4 separate regions of the Homo sapiens genome follow, and all the other regions are linked to region 2. The links are contacts of gene promoters, found by promoter capture Hi-C in blood cells and fetal thymus (Javierre and others, 2016). All regions are on one chromosome and are shown on one strand. The core of a region is centred on a gene start or on the middle of the fragment in contact, and the rest is flanking DNA. Distances in the headings are between cores, read along the strand shown. Region 1 overlaps PRR14L (proline rich 14 like). Region 2 holds the start of YWHAH (tyrosine 3-monooxygenase/tryptophan 5-monooxygenase activation protein eta). Region 3 overlaps DEPDC5 (DEP domain containing 5, GATOR1 subcomplex subunit). Region 4 overlaps PRR14L (proline rich 14 like).

The links. The method cuts DNA at HindIII sites, captures the fragments that hold promoters and counts their contacts. A CHiCAGO score of 5 or more calls a contact.
Region 1: a fragment that was not itself captured here is called in contact with the fragment with the promoter of YWHAH in region 2 in 1 of 17 cell types (endothelial precursors); the score reaches 5.1 in endothelial precursors.
Region 3: a contact is called between a fragment that was not itself captured here and the fragment with the promoter of YWHAH in region 2, in 3 of 17 cell types (endothelial precursors, megakaryocytes and erythroblasts). The highest score is 10.9, in endothelial precursors.
Region 4: a contact is called between a fragment that was not itself captured here and the fragment with the promoter of YWHAH in region 2, in 2 of 17 cell types (endothelial precursors and naive CD4 T cells). The highest score is 8.6, in endothelial precursors.

Annotation. Positions count from the first base shown.
Region 1 is chr22:31,721,941-31,724,640 of GRCh38, reverse strand. All of the region lies in intron 3 of PRR14L (proline rich 14 like), which reads left to right. Among named protein-coding and RNA genes, the nearest start is that of PRR14L, 27 kb to the left of the region's middle. The HindIII fragment of the contact is 1,455 bases long and covers 690-2,144 here.
Region 2 is chr22:31,943,232-31,945,931 of GRCh38, reverse strand. YWHAH (tyrosine 3-monooxygenase/tryptophan 5-monooxygenase activation protein eta) reads right to left here and starts at 1,397. Exons shown (of 2, transcript NM_003405.4): 1 at 1,112-1,397. The coding sequence starts at 1,198. It overlaps YWHAH-AS1 (YWHAH antisense RNA 1), which reads left to right and starts at 566. Exons shown (of 3, transcript NR_171018.1): 1 at 566-699. It overlaps LOC124900477 (a long non-coding RNA gene), which reads right to left and starts at 1,098. Exons shown (of 3, transcript XR_007068065.1): 1 at 697-1,098; 2 at 254-432. RefSeq lists enhancers at 427-476, 1,220-2,077, 2,078-2,700 and silencers at 797-1,136, 1,207-1,426, 1,437-1,526, 1,807-1,956. The HindIII fragment of the contact is 4,478 bases long and covers 1-2,700 here.
Region 3 is chr22:31,813,895-31,816,594 of GRCh38, reverse strand. It overlaps DEPDC5 (DEP domain containing 5, GATOR1 subcomplex subunit), which reads right to left. Exons shown (of 43, transcript NM_001242896.3): 21 at 1,383-1,603. It also overlaps the pseudogene RPL17P52. Among named protein-coding and RNA genes, the nearest start is that of DEPDC5, 61 kb to the right of the region's middle. The HindIII fragment of the contact is 1,314 bases long and covers 687-2,000 here.
Region 4 is chr22:31,701,510-31,704,209 of GRCh38, reverse strand. It overlaps PRR14L (proline rich 14 like), which reads left to right. Exons shown (of 9, transcript NM_173566.3): 6 at 489-660; 7 at 2,448-2,554. Among named protein-coding and RNA genes, the nearest start is that of PISD, 41 kb to the right of the region's middle. The HindIII fragment of the contact is 3,996 bases long and covers 1-2,700 here.

The DNA.
Region 1 (2,700 bases), core at 168-2,667, 220 kb after region 2:
GGATTGCTTAAGTCCAAGAGTTTGAGATTAGCCTGGGCAATGTGGCGAAACCCCTTCTCTACAAAAAATGCAAAAATTAGCATGGCAGCACACACACCTGTGGTCCCAGCTACTCGGGAGGCTAAGGCAGAAGGATACTTGAGCCCTGGGAGGTTGAGGCTGTAGTGAGCCGTGATCACACCACTGTACTCCATCCTGGGCAACAGAGCAAGACCCTGTCTCAGAACCTCACAAAGAGAAGATAAAGTGAATACGCTAAGTCAGTGGTCCCCGACATTTTTGGAGTCAGGAACCTGTTTCGTGCAAGACAGTTTTTCCACAGATCTGGTGGGGTGGATGCTTTTAGGATGATTCAAGTGCATTGCATTTATTGTGCACTTCGTTTCTATTATTATTCCATTGTAATATATAATGAAATAATTATACAACTTCCCATAATGTAGAATCAGTGGGAGCCCTGAGCTTGTTTTCCTGCAACTAGGTGGTCCCCTCTGGGGTTGATGGGCGACAGTGACAGATCATCAGGCATTAGATTCTCATAAGGAGCTCACAACCTAGATCCCTTGCATGTACAGTTCACAATAGGGTCCACGCTCCTATGAGAATATAATGCTAGTGTTTATCTGGCAGGAGGCGGAGCTCAGGCAGTAATGCAAGCATGAGGAGCAGCTGTAAATGCAGATGAAGCTTTGCTCACTTGCCTGCTTCTCACCTCCTGCTGTGCCGCCCGATTTCTAACAGACCAAGGATGGGTACTGGTCCATGGCCCAGGGTTGGGGACTGCTGCATTAAATTATATGACTATTTTGTTACTGTGATGAAACATCAGATTTGACTCTTAGCTTCTCGGCAGCCTGGACAGAAAAGGAAGCACCAATCTTTCTTATGAAAAAGGACATTTGTCCCAGTTTATCACCCAGCTTCCTGCTGCTGCAGATTTCTTCTGTGGCTCAGAGGCTTCACTGTCCAGTGTAGATTAAAGGACATTCCTCCGAAGATGAGAAATGGTGTTTTGTACATAAATCTCACCCTGTTCTTAGAGGCTTACTAGGGATACAGTTTAGTGGGCCCCTAACCCCACCCCCAAGATCTGTTTAGTTGGGCTCCAGTATTGCTGTATTCAGTCTTTGGTATATTTTCACCCACATCTTACCACAGAATTTACTGTCTGTTGAACTACACTTTCATTTAACCACTGAACTGGCCTTTTAAACAGGAGAACCAGGGTTATTTTCTGCTTGGAAATCTGCCTTTTCAAAATTACCTGGCTACTCTCCACCTAAGAAGCTGGTCCACATTGGACATAGATAAGATGAACTCTCCTGAACAGTATCTGCAGCTAAATTACTCTGTGACACTTTTCTTCATGTTCTAATATCATGCTTATTTAATGACTTAAATTGGTAAAATATTTGATTTTTTTTCTCCCCCAAACCCATGGATAAGGGTCTCAGTTTGGTATAGGCGAGCTTGAAATCAGCATCTCTACTAGAGTTTTTAGCAGCAATGGCCTAGTTCATTCTGTCCCCCAAGAACATTCCAGGGTATTCCTGTGTTGCATGTGAGGAAGCAGGCTCAGCTGTCCAAAGTCATAGCCAGTCATAGCAAGCCAGAGAAGAAGATTCTGTGGAGACAGGCCTGTGAAGATGTTGAGCCCTGGGAGCATGAGCAATATATGCCATCACCATGGATTTGATTTAAATAGACCCACGTTCTCTTCTGTAGTGTGGCCAGCATTTTGGCTTGCTCTGCCAAGGTCAGGCATCTGCTACTTTATCTTTACTGTGGAATTAAGAACTGAATGATGCCGGCTGGGCGCAGTGGCTTACACCTGTAATCCCAGCACTTTGGGAGGCCGAGGCAGGCAGATCACGAGGTCAGGAGATCAAGACCATCTTGGCTAACACAGTGAAACCCCATCGCTACTAAAAATACAAGAAAAAAAACAAAATTAGCCAGGCATGGTGGCGGGCGTCTGTAGTCCCAGCTACTTGGGAGGCTGAGGCGAGAGAATGGTGTGAACCCCGGAGGTGGAGCTTGCAGTGAGCGGGGATCGCTCCACTGCACTCCAGCCTGGGCAGCAGAGCAAGACTCCGTCTCAAAAAAAAAAAAAAAACTGAATGATGCCTCTTAGAAACCAAGCTTGTCTCCAGGGCTCCAGCTGCCAAAATCTTCACTCTGCCCCACCCAGATTTAAGTTTTCTTTCTTTTTTTTTTTTTTTTCTTTCTGTCACCCAGGCTGGAGTGCAGTGGCACGATCTTGGCTTACTGCAACCTCCGCCTGCCGGGTTCAAGCAATTCTCCTGCCTCAGCCTCAAATAGCTGGGACTACAGGCACGTGCCACCATGCCCGGCTGATTTTTTTGTATTTTTAGTAGAGACGGAGTTTTACCATGTTGGCCAGACTTGTCTCAAACTCCTGACCTCAGGTGATCCACCCGTCTCAGGCTCCCAAAGTGCTGAGATTACAAGTGTGAGCCACCGCGCCCGGCCCAGATTTAAGTTTTCTCGATGAAAATCTAATATATACTTACTACCTTTGTTTCATTAAGTGTTTGCATGGTTGAGCACTGTGCAAATTACTTTACTTGATTTTATTTATTACGTTTTGGTTATTCTGAGTGGGAGGACTTCAGTGTAATTATAAATTGGCTGAGGAATGATTTGGGATCCCCTGCACCAAGTTGTTTAGTAAGTGAA
Region 2 (2,700 bases), core at 148-2,647:
CAGCAAAGGATACATTTACTATAATCATGGGCAGTAATTCTCAGACTTAAGCCAGCTAAAAATCGCCTGTGAGAGCTGGTTACAATGCAGATGTCTGAGTCTCACCGCCCGAATTTCTGAATGTATAGGTCTAAGGCGGAGTTCAAGGGGATCCTCCCAGGTCTCAGGAGGTTGTACACTGAACATAGGTTGGTGGTCGCAGTTGTTCTACCACTGTGTGACCTTGACGCAGGGAGAGGAAATATTCATTTACAGAAAACGTAAAATAACGTGGAGAGAGAGTGAGATGGTAACCGGAACTCAGAAATGCAGGTGGTGTGTGACCCACGGTATTTTGCTAGGGTGTGGCTGGGCACGACTCATCCACCGGAGAAGCTGCAGAATCGATTTATGAGGGTCTCAGGAATGCAAAGACACACAGATTCGTCTCACCTAGAAGTCACGTTTCATTTTAATCTCCAAGCAGACAGCGCAGCAGCAAACCTGGGGCTGTGGAGTGGGGCCCCACACCCTCCGCCCACTCTCCCGCCCCCGTCCACGCCTAGACTGCAGGAAAGGGGTCTTCGCACACAAAGCCAGACCCCCAGGCGTGGGAAGATGGAACCAGAACAATTCGAACGAGCAGAGCAAAACAGATCGGAATTGCAGACTTCAGGTCGTGGCAGAGAAAACCAGCTGAGACAGGGCGCCACTTACTAGGTGATTCTTTATTCCAAGTTGGGGAACGGAGGAAGACGAGAGGGGGAGCCCCCGGGTCCGGTGAAACGCTCTAGGAGAAATGCGGCTCCTTCGCGTCCCCTAGGGCACCCTCTGCCCCCGGCCGGGTTCCGAACTAAGATGTGGCGACCCCGACCGGCCCGCCCCCCTTCCGGGGCTGCCTTCGCGATCCCGAACTGCACCCTCCCGGATCCCCCACCCTGGGCCCAGCCTCAGGAAGTGGCGGGGCGCCCAGCGGGAGCGGGAAGCGCGGGCTAAGGGCGGGCGGGCGGCCACGCCCAGCCGGGTCGCCGGGTCGCCCATGGCCGGGAGGGGAACGCGCCCGCGGCCATCCCCGTCCCTCCCCAACGCCAGGCCCCCCCCGGCCAGCCGCCCGGGCTCCCGGCGCGCTCACCGCCTTCATAGCGGAGGCCATGTCGTCGTAGCGCTCCGCCTGCTCGGCCAGCCGCGCCCGCTGCAGCAGCTGCTCCCGGTCCCCCATGTCGCTCGCGGCTCGGCCTCGCCTCGCGCCTCACACCGCTGGCTCGCTAGCCCTCCCGCCGGTCAGTCCGCTCCCCGGTCGCTGCGGAGGCCGCCGCCGCGCACGCGCACTGGCTCGCCGGCCGGCCGGAGGCTGCAGGCTGCAGGCTGCAGGCAGCGCCGCCGCTCGCGCCCTCTCGCTGGCTCGCCCCGCGCGCTGTGGCTCGCGCCGCGGACAACGCCGAGGGAGGAGACGCGGCCGCGCTGGGGGATGGGAGGACGGGACGACGCCTGCGCAGTGAGAGTGGCCAGGCCGGGCGGCGGGGAGCGGCGGGAGTGGGAGGGGGGAAGGGCGGGCCGGCCCTAACGGTCTATTTCAAGGTGACGTCACCTACTATAAATAGCCACCGCCGCCGCCGCCGCCCGGCCTGAAAGCCGCGCAGGCGCTCTGCGAGTGCTGCATTTTACCGCCGCAGAGATGGAGGTGGAGAAGGGAAAGCCGGGCAGGAGACTGCGGAGCCGGTGGAGGGGGCGCGGTGATGGCGGCTGCACAGGCAGTGCATTGTCATAGCCCCACCCTGAAACGCGCCACTCCATCCACGTTAGAGATCTGGCTTGAGAAGGGCCCCAAAAGCAAGCAAACATACTGGCGGAGAAGCCGGGAGACCGCGTGCCCCGAGGGGCGGGTCCGCCCAGCCCCGCCCCAGCCGTCCCGCCCGCCCCGAGCCCTGCCTGTCCATGCGTTCTGCTGGGCCACACCTTGTACTGGTCCGGGCAGGATCGAGTCCGACCCTCGGGGACAGCCCCGCTACACAGACACACACAATCGAACCCAACCTGAGACGTAGCCTTGGGCAGGCTGTGCCTTCCACCAGAGGAGGGGACTGGGTGGCCAGGGCGGGACAAGTAATATTCAGGACACATTAGGAGCCAGCCCAGTGCTAGTCCCGTACAAGCATCCTCCTCTTTAATCCTCACTACCCAGCCCACAGTGGGCACAGCTGGTCTCCCCATATTTAAAACGTGGAACCTGAGGAAAAGCGAGGTTAGTGACTTGCTCAGGGTTACGCAGCCTGTAAGTGGTGGGGCCAGGATCTGAGTCCAAACCCAGGCTGAACTTTCTCTTGTGGCAAAGAGCTGGGGTGGCCCAACTGGCTGGTCACTGAGCCCCTCCCAATCCTGGCTGGTATTGGATGCTGAGGGTCCCTTGTGCCAGGCCCTGGACTGGGCTGCCCGACAAGCTAGGAAAATGATGATTAAAACAAGGCCCCCACTTGATTTCAACACGCCAAGGGCAGTGCAGGAGAGGGGGCCTTGGGCTCGCTGAGAATTTTATTGAGCATCTACTGCATGCTCAGCCCACAGGGATAAGCTGGATCTTGAAGGAGAGTCAGGAAAAAGATTAAGGCCTGGGGTACAGCATTGGCAAAGGCTTGGCAGTGACCTGGGAGATGGTGAGAAGAGAGGCCTAAGAATGGGAAGTGAGGTTGGGTAAAACAAGATTACGGAGTCTTTTAAATGCCA
Region 3 (2,700 bases), core at 94-2,593, 130 kb after region 2:
AGCTGGTGTGGTGGTGTGTGCCTGTAATCCCAGCTACTTGGGAGGCTAAGGCAAGAGAATCACTTGAACCCAGGAGGCAGAGGTTGCAGTGAGCTGAGATCATGCCACTGTACCCTAGCCCGGGCAACAGAGCAAGACTCTGTCTCAGAAAAAAAGAAAAGAAAAAAAAAGAAAAGAAAGAAACTGAAGAAACAAAAACTGATAGTATGGGAATAAATTCGGTACAAAATCAATGCAAATAAAAGTTAAAAAAAAACAGGTAAGTGAAAAAAAAAGTTTTTTGTTTTTTTTTTTTTGAGGTGGAGTCTCCCTCTGTCACCCAGGCTGGAGTGCAGTGGTGGAATCTCGGCTCACTGCAACTACGCCTGCCAGGTTCAAGTGATTCTCCTGCCTCAGCCTCCTGAGTAGCTGGGATTACAGGCACCCGCCACCACACCTAGCTAATTTTTGTATTTTGAGTAGAGACGGCGTTTCACCATGTTGACCAGGCTGGTCTCAAACTTCTGGCCTCAAGTGATCCACCCGCCTTGGCCTCCCAAAGTGCTGGAATTACAGGTGTGAGCCACTGCGCCCGACCGGTAAATGAGAAACTAAAATGCAACATTAAGACAGAGGTTGTTTTATATATGGCACAAATGGAAATCATAAGGAAATAAACCCTTTTGACCCTAGGCCTAAGAAAAGCTTTCCATTAACATATGGAAAGGCATACAGTTAAATGATGGATGAAGAAAGGCTAAACAAAAAATAGTATAATAGAGGCAGGGTGCGGTAACATTGGTTCATGCCTGTAATCTCAGCACTTTTGGAGGCCAATGGGTGGATCCCTCGAGTCCAGGAGTTCAAGACCAGCCTGGGAATGGTAAAACCCCACCTCTACAAAAAAAAATATGATAATCAGCTGGGTGTGGTGGCATGCTATAGTCCCAGTTACTTGGGAGGCAGAAGTGGGAGGATCAATTGAGTCCAGGAGTTCAAGGCCGCACTGAGGTGAGCTGTGATTGCATCACTGCACTTCCCCACCTCTACAAAAAAAAATATGATAATCAGCTGGGTGTGGTGGCATGCTATAGTCCCAGTTACTTGGGAGGCAGAGGTGGGAGGATCGATTGAGTCCAGGAGTTCAAGGCCGCACTGAGGTGAGCTGTGATTGCATCACTGCACTTTATCCTAGGTGCTCTGTCACCAAAAAAAAAAAAAAAAAAAAAAGAAGTATAATATATACATAGCTAACAGCTAAAGTGATTTGTACCTACTGCACTGGCAAAGAAATCATTAAGATGTGGGATTTACACCCCACCTCTGACCAATCCTCCCACCTCCAGTCACCCACTATATTAAGAAAGATGTCCCTGGCTCTGTCTGTGCTTCAGCACTCTTACCTCGAGTGCTGGTGTATCCCAAGGAGCTGCTGACTTCATACTGGTGCAGGTGGGGGTGTGGGATCATCAGGATGTTGGCACTCTTGCCTAGGGAGCTGTCGTCAGAAGCCTGGCTCCTCACTTCCTCAGTGGGCAGTGTGCGGCTTGGTAGGGAAGGGCTGGATGAAACATCACAGGAGCTGGCACTCTTTCGACTGTGACTCTCTCGCTCTCGCACAGATCTGCCAGGCAAGAGACAAAAAGTTACCATCAAGCGAGGGATGCTGTCCTACCTTGAGTTAAAACTAAAACCCATCACCAGCCCAAGCCACATGGAACCCAATAACAAAAATCCCCAGTGTGATCTACAAGTGGGAAACCTGTATGCGGTACTTCACCCTTAACAGCTTGAGATGTTATATAAGAGAGGGGGGAAATGACAGACATTATGCAGCCAAAGTCCTAGGATCATAGTTGTAAAGAAAGGACTGCTCCAGGCTGACCCCACCTAATCCCACTGATTAATCTCTCATCACTAAAAACAGAATGAGAAGAGAGGTATGATGTGATGTGGGAGAAAGAACATAGTGCCCAAGAAGTCTACTTGCCCTCAAATTTGAATCTAAATCTAATCAAGCTTCCAGAGATAATTGCCAGTTTACAGGGAATCTGCAGAATAGAGGAAAACTGAAACACTACAAGGCAACAATCAGCCAAATGTAGAAAGCAAGACATTCTACTGTCACACACACACACAAAAGGCATTATAACCAAATGCAAAAAGTGGATCTTGTTTAGGTCCCATTTCAAACTAACTGCAAAAGCACATTTTTGAGGCAATTCAAAAAACTGACTATGCACTGGCTATTAGAGGGCATTTAGGGATTAGTGTTAATTTTGTTACCAATGATAATGGTACCGTGATGGGTTTTCTTTTAGTTCTTATTTGTTGAAACATATACTAATCAGCTTTGTGCCAGGCTGGGTGACACTAAATAAATAAATAACATGTAAAAAAAGAAAGAAACTTACGCTGAAGTATGTATTATTGAAAAAAAATAGAGGCTGCCTGGGGTTTGTTTTGTTTGTTTGTTTTTGTGAGACGGAGTCTCACTCTGTCACCCAGACTGGAGTGCAGTGGCATGATCTCAGCTCACTGCAGCCTCCACATCCTGGGTTCAAGTGATTTTCCTGCCTCAGCCTCCCAAGTAGCTGAGATTACAGACGCCCACCACCACGCCTGGGTACTTTTTTCGTATTTTTAGTAGAGACGGGGTTTCACCACGTTGGTCAGCCTGGTCTCAAACTCCTGAACTCAAGTGATCCACCTGCCTTGGCC
Region 4 (2,700 bases), core at 99-2,598, 240 kb after region 2:
TTACATATGTAGATACAGGCTATGTCTGGAAGTGACTAGAATGCAGGTTGACTGGATATATTATTCTCTGGAAAGAAAGAAAAAGTATTGAGGCCTAGATGTTAAGAAGTTGAGGCTGGGCGTGGTGGCTCACACCTGTAATCCCAGCACTTTGGGAGGCCGGTGCGGGTGGATCACCTAAGGTCGGGAGATCAAGACCATCCTGACCAACATGGAGAAACTCCGTCTCTACTAAAAATACAGAATTAGCTGGGCGTGGTGGCGCATGCCTGTAATTTCAGCTACTCGAGGGGCTGAGGCAGGAGAATTGCTTGAACCCGGGAGGCAGAGGCTGCATTGAGCCGAGATCGTACCATTGCACTCCAGTCTGGGCAACAAGAGCAAAACTCCTTCTCAAAAAAAAAAAAAAAAATGAAGAAGAAGAAGTTGAATGTGCTGGAAGTAGAAAGGGAACCCCTCTCATATCTTCTTTCTCTTCATGGTGCTAGGCTGGAGCCTCCATTCCCTGCCTTGGTACCAAAGTCTTGCTTGGTAGCAGAATCAGCTGTCAGCAAGCTCCTGCTTTCAGCCTCTGAGTTCCAGGTTCGTGGATTGGATGAGCTGGATGGTGTGAAAGCAGCATGCCCCTGCCCACAGAGCAGCCCCCCAGAACAGAAAGAGGTAAGTGTAAAGTGCTGGTTGGGTCAGATGATGGTGGCATTGGAGGTGGCCATTGTCAACTCACATCGCATTATAGCTACAGACTGGCTTCTGAGTATCTTTACGTACCACCTTCAGTGTCAGCCGAGTTCTGGAGAGTACTAAGCCAGGAGTTTTTCTCTTGGCCAGTAAAGGACACAGTGGATTTTTTAATCTGCATTGTTTTCCAGATACTTTTTTCTTGCCAACAGCATGTAACAGTGTTTAGAGAATTGGACGAAAGAGCTGCTTTGTGCATTCAAAGAAGATGAGTGGATGGTGATGATGTTCAATTTTGCAACGTCTGTTGTCTTCAACAGTTGCAAACTTTCATGTTGACAGTCTCAATATCTGAACTGAATGTACAATTCTTGTTTTGATGATATGAAGGGAGTAGTTGCTTAAAACACAGCAGGGGCCAGGCACGGTGGCACACGCCTGTAATCTCAGCACTTTGGGAGGCTGAGGCGGGCGGATCGCTTGAGTCCAGGAGTTCAATAGCAGCCTGGGCAACCTGGCAAAACTGTGTCTCTACAAAAAAGACAAAAATGAGCTGACTGTGGTGGTGCACACCTGCAGTCCCAGTTACTCGGGAGGCTGAGGAGGGAGAATTGCTTGAGCCCGGGAGGCAGAGTTTGCAGCAATGACCCCAGATTGCATCACTGCACTCCAGCCTGAGTGACAGAGTGAAACCCCATCTTAAAAAAAAAATAAAAGGCCGGGCACGGTGGCTCACGCCTGTGATTCCAGCACTTTGGGAGGCCAGGGCGGGCGGATCACCCGGGGTCAGGAGTTCGAGACCAGCCTGGCCAGTATGGTGAAACCCCATCTCTACTAAAAATACAAAAATTAGCCAAATGTGGTGGCACATTCCTGTAATCCCAGGTACTCTGGAGGCCGAGGCAGTAGATTCGCTTAAACCCAGGAGGTGGAAGTTGCAGTGAGCCTGGATTGCACCACCACACTCCAGCCTGGGCGGCAGAGTGAGACTCCATCTCAAAAAATAAATAAGGCCAGATGCGGTGGCTCACATCTGTAATCCTAGCACTTTGGGTGGCCGAGGTGGGCGGATCACCTGAGGTTGGGAGTTTGAGACCAGCCTGACCAACATGGAGAAACCCTGTTTCTACTAAAATACAAAATAAGCCGGGCGTGGTGGCACATGCCTGTAATTCCAGCTACTCAGGAGGCTGAGGCAGGAGAATGACTTGAACCTGGGAGGCAGAGGTTGCGGTGAGCCAAGACCATGCCATTGCATTTAAGCCTGGGCAACAAGAACAAAACTCTATCAAAAAAATAAATAAATAATAAAAAAAGCAGGAATAGAAGTGGGAGCTTTGTCATAAACTGCTTAATAGAGTCATCTCTAGAGTGAGGTAGCAATGTTTTAAGTGTCAAGATGGACTTTATATATTTAAAATATCTTACAATATGCCAGGGGTGGTGGCATACACCTATAGTCCTAGCTACCGCAGAGGCTGAGGCAAAAGGATCAGTTGAGCCCAAGAGTTCCTGGCCAGCCTGGGCAATATAGCGAGACCCCATCTAAAAATAAAAATTCCCAGTTACGGTGGCTTATACTTGTAACCCCAGCGCTTTGGGAGGCCAAGGCAGGAGGATCATTTGAGTCCAGGAATTCAAGGCTGCAGTGAGCTATGATTGCACCACTTCACACCAGCCTGGGCCACAGAGTGAGACCTTGTCTCAAAAAATATATAAATAAAATGTCTTACAGCTTGACCATCTTTCTTCTTAATCCTTAAAAATAGGCTGAGCCAGAGAAGAGGCCAAAGAAAGTCTCACAGATTCGCATCCGGAAAACCATTCCTAGGCCAGATCCTAATCTTACCCCCATGGGCCTTCCTCGACCCAAAAGGTGAGCTCCTTCTCTGTTACAAGCTAGGTTCACTTTTTTGGAAAATTGTTTGTCATAATATAATTGCCCTTTAAATGGTCCTACACTCTGAGCCATTTATTACATTTCTAGGAATTTATCCTAAAGAATTAATTAGTAATGTCGCT